3 separate regions of the Homo sapiens genome follow, and regions 2 and 3 are each linked to region 1. Evidence: promoter capture Hi-C in 16 types of primary human blood cells and fetal thymus (Javierre and others, 2016). All regions are on one chromosome and are shown on one strand. The core of a region is centred on a gene start or on the middle of the fragment in contact, and the rest is flanking DNA. Distances in the headings are between cores, read along the strand shown. Region 1 holds the start of ADAM19 (ADAM metallopeptidase domain 19). Region 2 has its middle 2.5 kb from the start of CYFIP2. Region 3 overlaps CYFIP2 (cytoplasmic FMR1 interacting protein 2).

The links. Contacts are between HindIII fragments. The CHiCAGO score rates a contact against its expected background, and 5 or more counts as called.
Region 2: a contact is called between a fragment that was not itself captured here and the fragment with the promoter of ADAM19 in region 1, in 1 of 17 cell types (neutrophils). The highest score is 5.9, in neutrophils.
Region 3: a contact is called between a fragment that was not itself captured here and the fragment with the promoter of ADAM19 in region 1, in 2 of 17 cell types (neutrophils and activated CD4 T cells). The highest score is 6.8, in neutrophils.

What each region holds. Positions count from the first base shown.
Region 1 is chr5:157,573,632-157,577,726 of GRCh38, forward strand. ADAM19 (ADAM metallopeptidase domain 19) reads right to left here and starts at 2,144. Exons shown (of 23, transcript NM_033274.5): 1 at 1,972-2,144. The coding sequence starts at 2,065. LOC124901121 (a long non-coding RNA gene) reads left to right here and starts at 1,348. Exons shown (of 2, transcript XR_007059018.1): 1 at 1,348-1,739; 2 at 2,649-2,979. RefSeq lists enhancers at 840-1,369, 1,606-1,685, 3,543-4,095 and a silencer at 1,856-2,295. The HindIII fragment of the contact is 8,826 bases long and covers 1-3,621 here.
Region 2 is chr5:157,261,530-157,265,624 of GRCh38, forward strand. No RefSeq gene overlaps it. Among named protein-coding and RNA genes, the nearest start is that of CYFIP2, 2.5 kb to the right of the region's middle. The HindIII fragment of the contact is 642 bases long and covers 1,542-2,183 here.
Region 3 is chr5:157,317,039-157,321,133 of GRCh38, forward strand. CYFIP2 (cytoplasmic FMR1 interacting protein 2) reads left to right here. Exons shown (of 31, transcript NM_001037333.3): 14 at 2,724-2,890; 15 at 3,617-3,764. Among named protein-coding and RNA genes, the nearest start is that of FNDC9, 27 kb to the right of the region's middle. The HindIII fragment of the contact is 3,732 bases long and covers 1-3,554 here.

The sequences.
Region 1 (4,095 bases), core at 894-3,393:
GCTACTCAGGAGGCTGAGGCAGGAGAATAGCTTGAACCCAGGAAGCAGAGACTGCAGTGAGCCCAGATCGTGCCACTGCATGCCAGCCTGGGCAACAGATAGAGACTCTGAAAAAAAAAAAAAGAAAGAAAAGAAGGAATGAAGGAAGGAAATTAAAAAAGAAAGATAACCAAGAATTATGGTTTGCTTCATGGGGCATCCACCATTTCTGCATCTGCCCTGGGCCACATGATTTCAACATTCTTTCTCCAATGCTTGTATCACCCCTTTCTAATGCTCCCTGAATCAGCTTTACTCTCCTGTTTGCTACCTCATTAATGAGTTGAATAAATCTTGGCCACATTTGTATGAGTCGTGTTTTTAACTTTTGAAAACTTTGTATAGAGTCATTAAAATCATGTTTTACAGAGAATTTGATGATGTGGAAAACGCTCATGGTGTGAAGTGAAAAACGCAAGACACGAAACTGTACTTATGGGTATGGTTCCAATTTTATCAATATATATCCATAGGAACACACAAAGAATGTGGAGGGGAAAAAAAACAAAATATCAACAGCAACTGTGGATTTGGGGGTTGCAGATCATTTTCTTTTACACTTTTCGTTATTTCCCAGATATTCTACAGCAAGTGTTCTCCAAGGACTCAAAACTCAGAGAAGGCGCCTGTGCTAGGAGCAGTAACTAGCTTTCCTTGTCTTTCTTCATGCTTTTCTCCTGCACTAAGCACTGACACAGGCCTGGTGCTACCCTAGAACCTCCTCTGTGCCTCAGTTTCCCCTTCGGAACAACAGCTCAAAGGGCGGTTCCTTTGAGCCCTTTGGGAGGACCGCCCGACCTCGGCCCCTGGAAGTTCCGAACTGTCGGAAGAGCTCTCAGCCTCTGGGTTTGAGGCGGCCCGGGGGTCCAGCCAGCCCACCCTCGCTCCGCCGGTGCTCGCTCTATTTGAAAACGCTGACTGTTGGTCCCCCAAGCAGCAGTCTGGAGTCAGCCCAGCCCGTCTGCAGCGGTGGAGCCAGGGCTAAGCCTTCTCCGGTCATAATGAGAGAACCCGGGCACCGCCCCCCGGGACCAAGCCTTCCGCGAAATCTGCTTATAGCCCCCGAGGGATGGAGCCGGGGAGGGGATTGGTGTCTGGGAAACTAGTCCTGAGAAACACGGACATCACCCGGCATCTTAGCTGGAAACATCGAGTCAGACCCCTTCGCTTCACAGAAGGGGAAACTGAGGACCAAAGAAGGCGGCCGTCGGGTTGGCGTGGAAAGAGAGCCCTGGTTTCCAGTGCCACCGCGGACCTCAACCCGTGGCGTGGCCTTGGGCAAGTCCTTTCCCTTTTGTGGGCCTCGGTTTCCCCATCTGTGAAATGGGTGCGTTTGACTTGGCCTTCAGTAGGGCTCCTGCCAGCTCGGGGATCCGAAGTGTGTGGCTGCAGATACCCAGCGAGCCATCCCCTAGCCAAGGCTACCACAGTCTGCCGCGGGCATTTTATGTCCTACCCCACCAGTGTGGCAGGCACCGAGCCTGGTCCCAGGAAGCCGCTCCCAGGCCACACGGGCAGGGCGCTCGGGATGCTCGGCGTTGGCGAGTGCAGCGGGCGGTAGAGAGAAAGACAGAGAGAGAGGCGGAGCGGACACGAGGGACCGTGAGAAAACGGAGGAGGATAAGCCCCGAGAACGGCGGAAAGAGAAGCCAAAAGCAGAAAAACAGAGGAAGGAGAAGGCGAGAAGGGAAGGCTAGCCAGTGAGCGGACCGGCTGTTTTCTGGCTGCGCCGGGTTTCCCCGACCTCTGCCACCTCCCAGGGCGCAGAACGTGGGAACAAAGCCCGGGCTCCCAGGCTGGGGACGGCGGGGGCGCAGGCCCCGCGGAGTTGCGGGAGGCGCAGGGGTCGCGGTCCCAGCGCTCCGGACCCGCAAGGCTACTCCCAGGTCTCCGGGCCACCCAGCCTCCATCCCCCCGCGCCTGGCCACTTACTTGTCCATCCAGGCTCCCGCGCCGCCCGCGGCCGGAGGGGCTGCAGGGCAAACGCCAGCAAGCAGAGCCGGGCGGCGCCTGCGCCCCCTGGCATGGTGGCGGCGGCCCTTAGCGCTCGGCGCTCACACGCCCTCAGCCATACCTGCCCACTGCCCGGCGGTGGAGGCGCGTCTGGAACCCCCCGGCTCGCCCCGCGCCTCCCCACCCGGCTCCCAGCCCTCTGCCGAGACGCTCCGCCTCCAGCCCCGCGGGCCTCCGCCAGGGGATGGAGGAGGGGAGGCTCCAGCCCGGAGGGGGCTGGAGGGAGGGGCCGGGGAGGAGCTGGCGAGACTCGGGGGAGCGGGGCTGGCTCAGGTGAGGGAGACCGCGGGGAAGGGAGAATCCGAGCCCCCCAGGAGGAGGGATTTGTGGTGGACGCGGCCTGTAGAGGGTCGGGGACTCGGGCTTCTAGGAGTTAAACTGGACCCCTCTCCGCACAGCGGCCCGTTTACTGTCCCGCACTGTGCCAGACGCCTTGGGTGACACTCAGAGGTGATTCACCCAGCGCCGTCCCCCGGGGGCCGCCACTCTCGGAGACAGGCTCAGAAAGAGTTAACCCAACCGCCAGGCACAAAGAACTAAGTGCTATATGGACTTCTTTTTTTTTTTTTTTTTTTTTTTTTTTTTTTTTTTTTAAGCAGGACACAAATCCAGGAGCCATTCCTTCTGCCTGGGAGGAGGGAGTGATGAAGACCAGAGGAATCCCAGAGGAGAAGCCATCTGAGATCGGGAGGAGGAGAAATGGAACATCAGGCGGAGGAAACAGCCCAGACAATCGCACTGGGACGTGAAAACCCTTGGGCTGCATGCGGGGAGAAAACCAGAATTGGGGATGGTTAGGGTTTTGGAGGGAAACACAGGGACATGTGACCAAAAATAATAATAACTACTGTTACTTATTGAGGACTTTCTATGTACTAGAATAAGAAAATCATGATAGCTAAGACTGATAAAACGCTAAGTGTCAAACGCTGTCTTCAGCACTTTACACATATTCACTTATTTAATTAATCGGAGAAAATAACTTTTATGAGCCAGGGACTCTGCATACATTATCTCTTTTCATTAGCCCAGTAATCCCATGGGGTAGGTACTAGTACTATCCCTGTTTTAGAAATGAGGAAATCAAACCTGAGAGGCTAAACCACTTGCCCAAGATTACACAGCTAATGTCAGTGCCTAGATTCAAACCCACATCCGTATAACTCCAGAGCCTGATGCAACACACCTTATTTTCCAGGTGGAGAAACTGATAATGAGAGAGAAATGACTTGCCTAAGATCCCTCAGCAAGTTTTAGCAAAGCCTCGTTGTAGAATCCCAGCCTCAAACCTCGTCCATCTGTTCCTTTTTCTGAGCCTCTTTAGTCAAACCCAGGTTGACTAGAGAAGTGCTAAGTGTTGGAGAGGGCGAGGCACTCCTGAAGATGATGGGTAGGTAGGTCTATCAAACCCTACTCATGGGCACCCATGAGGGAAATCAAATAAGTGGTTCTGGCCATTAATGTCGTTTGGGACTCCGTTAGTCTCCAGCTGCTGTAAAATTCGTATCTTTCTGTGAACCCGAAATATCTGAGATAGGTCTCAGTCAATTTAGAAGGTTAATTTTGCCAAGCTTAAGAACGTGCTCATGACACAGCCTCAGGAGGTCCCAACATGTGCCCAGGGTGGTGGGGGTGTAGCCTCCTTTTATATATTTTGGGGAGACATGAGACATCAATCAATATGTGTAGGATGTACATTGCTTCCGGTCCGGTAAGGCAAGACAACTCCAAGCTGCAGAAAGGGTGGTGCTTCCAGGTTATAAGTAGATAAGAAACAGAAGAGGTTACATTCTTTTGAGTCCTTGATCAACCTTCCACTGAATACACAATTTAGTCTAGCTCAGTGAATCTACATTTTTACATAAACAATAGGGCAGAAGAAGCAATCAGATATGCATTTGTTTCCGGTGAGCCTCAGAGGGATGGCTTTAAATTCTGTCTGTCCTTTGTCCACAAGGAATTTCCTTGTGTGAAAATTGTGAGGAAGGTATGTAGCTGTTTCTCTTTGTAGCTATCTTATTTAAGAATAGGATGGTGGCCTGG
Region 2 (4,095 bases), core at 613-3,112, 310 kb before region 1:
GAATTGCTCACTCAGAGATGATTAGCATCACACAGCACTTGAAGTGGATACTGGCAACACTTGAGTTCACCACAATAGCAACAAGAGATGGCCACAGGCCAGGCGTGGTGGCACACACCTGTAATCCTGGCACTTTGGGAGGCCGAGACGGGAGGATCACCTGAGATCAGGAGTTCGAGACCAGCCTGGCTAACATGGTGAAACTACATCTTTACTAAAAATACAAAAATTAGCCAGGTGTAGGGGCACATGCCCATAATCCCAGCTACTCGGGAGGCTGAGGCAGGAGAATCACTTGAACCTGGGAGGCGGAGGTTGCAGTGAGCCAAGATCATGCCACTGCACTCCAGCCTGGGCGACAGAGTGAGACTCTGTCTCAAAAAGAAAATCATAATAATAATCCCATTTTTGAGCATTTATTATGTACCAGACTCTGCTTAGTGTGTTACATTATCATTTCATATAACCTTCACAAGAATCTAAGGGATATACTTTTTTGTTTTGTTTTGTTTTGCTTTGTTTTGATACAGTGTTTTGCTCTGTTGCCCAGGCTGGAATGCAGCCGCACCATCTTTGCTCACTGCAACCTCCACCTCCTGGGCTCAAGCAATTCTCTTGCCTATAAAATGAGGCAATTTTGAGCAAGTGGTCAGGTTCTATCTACAGAATGGCCAATGTAAATTCTGTAACTGACCATCAAGTTTATCTTTTCCTGCCACCCACATAAATACTTAGAACCAAATGTGTTAGCAAGCTCATAGCAGGTAGAGCTGTGATTGATTTTTGTTTTGTTTACATTTTGGTCTTATGTACATTCGATTCTCCATCTCATCTCTCTACTCTTTTCCTTCTTTTTAAAAAATTTCTTGCTGATTTTTAATTTTTTAACATAATGTATTCCTGTAACTTACATTTAATATGTTTTTAGAATAAGGTAGCATATTAGTAAACAAATGGACTTAGCTTGGAAGAGGGAAAGTGAGGCTGTATGAGATTGTGGTAAAAAGCATGGGTTTGACTTCACTACCTTGGGCAAATTATTAAACCTTAATTGCCTCAATTATAAAAATGGGAAAAATGATTGTATTTTCCTTATAGAAAAATTACGAAAAATTAAATGAGGTAATGTACTTGGTAAATGTTAGCCATTATTATTATTATCATTATTTATGTTTTCCCTTCATGCCCATTCCAGATACTTCATTACTGGTGTCTATAAAGCAGGGTCTCCTGATAGTTTTAAAATACATATATATATATATATTTTTTTTTTTTTTGAGACAGAGTTTTGCTCTTGTTGCCCAGGCTGGAGTGCAACAGTGTGATCTCGGCTCACTACAACTTCCACCTCCCGGGTTCAAGCAATTCTGCCTCACCCTCCTGAGTAGCTGGGATTACAGGCGCTCGCCACCATGCCCAGCTAATTTTTTGTATTTTTAGTAGAAACTGGGTTTCACTATGTTGGCCAGGCTGGTCTCGAACTCCTGACCTCAGGCAATCCACCTGCCTCGGCCTCCCAAAGTGCTGGGATTATAACTTGAAGCTTTTCTAAAACACAAGGTAATGTTGCCACATGGACAACATGTGGGCCACAGCTTTGCAAGTACCAAAGCAATTCTTATTGATATCCTCTACCATTTCATTGCTGATGCACAGCTTGGGGTTGGATGTGAAGGAAATCTGAAGGCAGTAGACAGACAGCTATACATTTCAGTGGCAAAGTTTAAAAATGTCACCTATGGGTGTTCATTCCATCCATTTTTACTGAACTCCTGTTAAGTACCAGGCTCCAAGGATGCAATGGGAAAGCAAGACAGACATATCCCTGCTCCCTTAGATTTTATGGTCTCATGGTGGAATACAGGGAAGTGTGTTGACAATTATAATGCAGACTAATACGTGGGGTGATAGAGGGAGCCCAGGCAGCTAAGGACACATAGACAACTAATCTCAAGCTAACCCAGACATGTAGGAATCTTGGAGGAAGCGACATCTAGAGGAATACCAGGAAGATGAACAGAACTTCATCAGGTAAACTGGGAAAAAGTGTGGAATGTGGAGGGAGGGAATGGGGGGACAGAAACTGCCATTGAAGAAGCCTTGCATGTACGAATGTCGAGCACAACAGAGAACACAGCAAGTTTGAGGAACTAAAAGCTGTTCCTTTTAGCTGAAGCACAGCAAGCTTGTTCACATGGAGAGATAGCTGCCAGCTCTTAAAGACCCTCTCCGGCCACTGGAGAGTTTGGGCTTCATCGGGGGGCAGTGGGGAGCTAGGGAAGTGCCTTAAGCCTGGGAGGGACGTGCCCTTTAACTCATGTAATTTTCCACATTCAGAGGGAAGTTGGAGAGCATCCAACTTACTTCACTTAACAGGTGAGGAAACAGGGGTGAGGCTCCTTGCCTAAGATCATTCTTCTGTTAGTTGCAAAACTAGAACCAAAAGGCAAGCCTCTGGATTTCCAACACAGTGGCTTCAAAAGACCATACTGCTCTCCTTTATACACAAATAGAACTCAGAGGTCGGAGTTATTTTTGCCTAAGATCTAACCAAATATATATGTAATAGTCTTTTCTGTTTTTAGGCAACTTGTTCCTGAAGGTGAAAAGACAGGGAAGGAACAACAGGGAGAAATACGTCTTCCAAAAAACTATACCATCTGCAATAATATGCCCCTTAGAATGAAAATCTGATTTATTGGGATTCTCATTGTTAAGTATTTGTAATCACTGAACTTGAAATCCCAAGGATCACGGTGGAAAATGAAACATTTTTTAAAAAGGAAACCTCAGTTCTGTTTTTAAACCCATCCTCCACAAACACCCCCACAGCTTTTCACACTGAACCAGGGAAGAAATGTATGTGTGTGTATATATATATATATATAAGTCATTTTTTTCCGAAATAGCAATTTGAATTGGAATTAGCGATTTAAGATCAAACCACAAGGAATTATGGATTCTGAGCACGTGGGAAATAAGGTGAGATCAGTAAAGGAAAGCAAAGGCTTCCACAAGTCCTTTGCTGGAGCTTGAATAACGGGGCTCCTCCACAAATTGCCCTTATTAGGAACAGCTGAGTGATTAAGTATAAATTTGTGGGCCTTAGGAAACCACTCCTTATATCTACATACACTCCACAATGTCTCAAATGTTTTCAAATTATTTACCCTGTAAGGTATAAAGGGCAACTGTTATTCCCTGTGTTGCAGATACGGTGACCTCTGTGGAGCAGAGTGGTGAAGTGACCTGCTCAGGTGTCTCAAGGTTAGAATTTGGTGCAGCCTGACTTCAGCCTGGTCTGAAGGCCTACCAGGCTGGATTTCAATGAGAATTGTTTCTTTCTCTTTTTCTTTTCTCTCTTTCTTTCTCTTCTTTCTTTCCTTCTCTTCTTTCTCTCTCTTTCTTTTTCTTTCTTCCTTTCTCTCTCTCTCTCTCCCCCCGTCTCTCTCTTTCATTCTTTTTTTTTTTTTTTTGAGACAGAGTCTCACTCTGTCACCCAGTCTGGAGTGCGGCGGCAGGATCATAGCTCACTGTAGCCTCAATCTCCCAGGCTCAAGCAATCCTCCCACCTCAGCCTCCTGAGTAGCTGGGACAAAAGGTGGATGCCACCACACCCATCTATTTTTTTTTTTTTTTAATTTTTAGTAGAGATGAAGTTTCGTTGAGTTGCCCAGGATGGTCTCCAATTCCTGAGCTCAAGCAATCCTCTCTCCTCGGCCTCCCAAAGTTTTGGTATTACAGGTGTGAGCCACCGCTGGGCAGATAATTGCTTCTTTAAAGAGCCCGACACGGCAGATAAGCCTTGAAGAGAAAGGTACCTGTCCTCTCAGTGCTTCCTGCCACCTATTTGTCCGTTAGGCAATTCTTCCAGAATGAAGTTGAGGCAGGCCCCTGTAAAAGAGGTGGCAGCTTCAGGGACTCTTCTCCAGGGAACTGGAAGGGAGCGGAAGAACTTATTCTTAAGCGAAGGAGCCCTATCAGCGACCAAGCTCAATTGGTGGAAGGCCCCTTCCCCTAGCCCCAGTTGCATCTTCTGTCACTTCACCCTGCTCCTTCTCCTCAGAGCACTTTGGGCTGTAACTGGACGTTTGC
Region 3 (4,095 bases), core at 439-2,938, 260 kb before region 1:
GAGGGTAAATGCAACTTTATAAAACTATTTATGCACTTATTTCCTTAATAAAAGGGATGCGTATGCACTGTAAGTGATTCAGAAGATGCTCCCGCAACCCACTTCTACCTTCACCTTCCCACAACCTTATATCGTCATCCAAGCACAACCACCAAGAACATGTCACTCTATTTCCATCTAGTCATTACTTTGCTATACATTGGGAGGTTTTATCATTTTTATCTCATTAATAAAACATGTTTAAAAAAATTAAAAAGAAAAGTAGTTCAATGTGGCCTTTAATAATAAAACAAAGCAAAAGTAGTAACCTGCCTGTACCATGTTATTCCATTCTGAATCCCCAAATAGGAAACACCATTCAACTTGTTAAGCGATTCCTTGTGGTATTTATCTCCCTAGTTCTAACAGGCTTATGAGACTATTTCTTGGTTTTTCAGTTTATGACATTTTCTATTGATTTTCTACTTTGGGAAATGAGGATATAGCTCTCTCCTTCCTACCTCCCATCCCTGCAACACACCTGGTTTCCTTCCCCCATCTTCCCATCGTGGTAATTTTACACTTTTTGGTAAAAATCAATGGTTACCTTATTATTATTATAACCAAGTAACTGTTGTCCATCACTGAGCCACACGCTCTAATGTGAATCCATTTATTTTCTTGCACAACTTTTTGTTCTTCATAGAATTAGCAATACTGTATTTTTTATTTTGTTTTCTATGAGTCTATCAAAAAGGCAACCCCAAACCTACCAACAAAATGTAAAACTCCTTACAAAATAGTCCATCACAGTCATCATTTGATGAGTTTTGGTATTATTCTTTTTTTCTTGGAGGCATTCCTCCACAAGCTCTCTTCTTTCCAATCTGCATGGGTTTGTCTCTAGACCAGCCCCGCCACTGATCCAAGATTCTCCTCATTATTTATTATCTTGGGAATTCCCTTTACCTCTGTCCTGTCCTGTATCCCATTCATATATCTTCCTCTGTGAAGTATTGAGATCTTTTGCCCATTTTTAAAAAATCGGGTTTCTGTCTTCCTATTATGGAATTGTGAGAATTCATTCCATATTTTAGATCACAAGTCTTCAGTCAAATATATGTCGCAAATATTTTTTCTCATCAGTGACTTTGCCTTTTCATTTTTTAAGGGTGCCTTTTGAAGAGCAGCTGTTTTTAATTTTGATGAAGTCCAATTTGTCAGTTATTTGGTGGTTAGTGATTTGGGGGTTTCAGCTAAGAAATCTTTGCCTTGTCTAGAGTTGTAAAGATTTTTCCTTTAGATCCAACAGGCCTGCCCACTCCTCTGTATTTGGAGCCATTCTGAGACATCTTCATTATTTACTCCTTCCTTTTTCCTAATGTCTCCTAGTTATATCTGTAGCCAGGGGCCCAGATTCTGTTATGATCTAACAGTCCTCTAATGCTTCTCTCCCATTATTTCTCTGCACTAAAGCTCATCACCAACAAAATTGTTGTACTGTTGGTGCCAATGAAAACCATCACCTCCTGAGTTGTTTTCATACCAGTTCTATCTAAAAATGTTCTTTTTCTTCCTTTAAGTTTTAGAGAAAAAAACAGCCTTAGGGTCTGAGCTCATTCATTCATTTATTTGTTCCTTTTCAACAGAAAATGTGTCTGCCCACCATGGACCCAGACACTGGCAGTTGGGCGTGCACAGCATAGCTGGGCCCTGTCCTGTGTATTTCCAGTCTGGTGTAGAAGGTGGAACATGCCATTATGGGTGTGATCTGTGTGGCAGTTGTGAGGTGGACGATCTGCCACATGCCTTTCCCTCTGAATTCTGAATCAATTGAGAAATTAATATTAGAGGCCAATGGAGTCAAAGGCTCAGACTTACTGCTGGTAAAGCTAGACTAGAGAATGTGGTTTTCACCCAAGGCCACACCAGTGTTCCTATGCCTCCTACATCTCATTAAACTTGCCACTAGGTAATAGGCAAAGCAGCTGCATAGATACACGCCTCCCTTCCTCGGGATGGGCAGGGGATGGTTACTGCAAGAAGCAGCCAGAAACCTAGAAGGGAGGCCACATACTTGCAGGCAGGCAGGTCCCAAAAGAGCGAGCCAAGGTCAGGCCAGGCTCCTCTCATCACACGTGCCTGAATCCCCATCTCTCCAAACAGATAAGTGAGTTAGGGTAAGGAGAAGGGAAATAGGGGAGTAGAGGCATTCTCCCCCATGACTTCTGCAGGAGAAGTTTTGATTTTATAAACTCAAGCAGCAACTGGCCAAACGGTTTCAAAAACAAAGGTTGTAAAAATTCTTTAGAAAATTTTATGTTAAAAAAGTTCTATTTGATGTTGTCTGTGAGTGCCTGGTCTATGGAGAGGCCTTCAAAAGCCAAGGCACTTCTCAAAATGCTCAAATTGTGGCCCATGGGCCAGCTGCTATTTGTCAGCAGTGAACAACAAAATTGGGAGCTCATGCGAGGATGAAAATCAGTTGCATTGCGAAGAATGCTGTTAGTTGAGCTGACATTTGTGTTTTGTAGCAAGACTTTCTCAATGAATGAAGCCAAGTGCTGATATACGTACATTCTGGCACACATCTCTTACCTAGCCATGCGCTGGCACTTTGAGTAGCACTGGCCTCATGCCTCTGGACATCTCACTCCCCGCCTCCCCTGGCAGGGCGGTGATGGGTAGTAGACAGCTGGTGTGCTGGACATGGTGAACATGACCCTTGGCCTCTTCCTGCCCAGGTGATCGCCATGATCAAAGGCCTGCAGGTGCTCATGGGCAGGATGGAGAGCGTCTTCAACCAGGCCATCAGGAACACCATCTACGCGGCATTGCAGGACTTCGCCCAGGTGACGCTGCGTGAGCCCCTGCGGCAGGCGGTACGGAAGAAGAAGAATGTCCTCATCAGGTGGGTTTTCAGATGCCTTCAGGAGCATATCAGACATAAGCATGCCAGGTACCCATCAGAGAGGATGTCCTGGCTCAGCCACTGAACACACATGGGTCCTTCCAGCAAGCTCCAGAGGGCTCTTTAGGAGATTGGGCATTTGGGATGAATTAAGCCTTCATCTCTAGAAGTCCATATCCACTGCTATCTAGCTGTGTGAACTTGGTCAGGTTGCTGACCTTCTCCAAACCTCAGTTTTCCTCATTTGTAAAATGGGGATTATAATGCTACCTGCTGCCTGTTGGGATGATGAAATGAGATGGTCCATATATAGACCTAAGCACATGCAGCATGGAGTAAGTATGCAGCACATCTAAGCTATTATGAAAACTAAGCACACACAGATTTCATAAGACCGGTGAGACTCCCCTATAACCAGAAAGGAAATACAGACCTCTTGCCTCACACAAGTTCTGTCTCACTCGATGGGCTCAGAGCTGAGTTCTCAGACATCCCTTGGACATCAGAACCATGTAGGACACTTGTTTAAACACAGATTCCTGGACTGTACCTTAAATCTGTTAAACCAGAGTTTTGGAATTGGGGCAGAAATGAGCATGCTTTACAAGCACCCCAAGAATTCAAATGTGGGTGTTCCTGGGACACCACGGGCCCTAGAAACACAAGCTTGTAGTGACGTTTTCCCATGGTGAAACCTGGTCTAAGTCTTAGTTCTTCCTTCCCCAGCGTCCTACAGGCAATTCGAAAGACCATCTGTGACTGGGAGGGAGGGCGAGAGCCCCCTAATGACCCATGCTTGAGAGGGGAGAAGGACCCCAAAGGTGGATTTGATATCAAGGTGCCCCGGCGTGCTGTGGGGCCATCCAGCACACAGGTAAGCGGCTCCAGGCACAGGCCAGCTGCGTTGACTCAGAGGCCAGCCGGGCTATGGTAGATCATCATGGCTGGCCATGGGCAGTGGGACTGGGAGCCGTCGGTCAGGAGGGGCAGGGTTGAGTGGCTGCTCCGGTCTTATTCTGCCATCTTGTTTTGATATAGGAAGGAGGACCACTGGCTTAAGATTCAGGAGACCTGGATTCTAGTCCTAGATACCTGTGTGACCTCGGGCACTTTACAGATCTCTCTGTGCCTCAGTTGTTTAAACTGGCTAATGGGGATAATACCACCACATCCACCTTGCCTGGCTATCTTCTAGTCCTATGAAG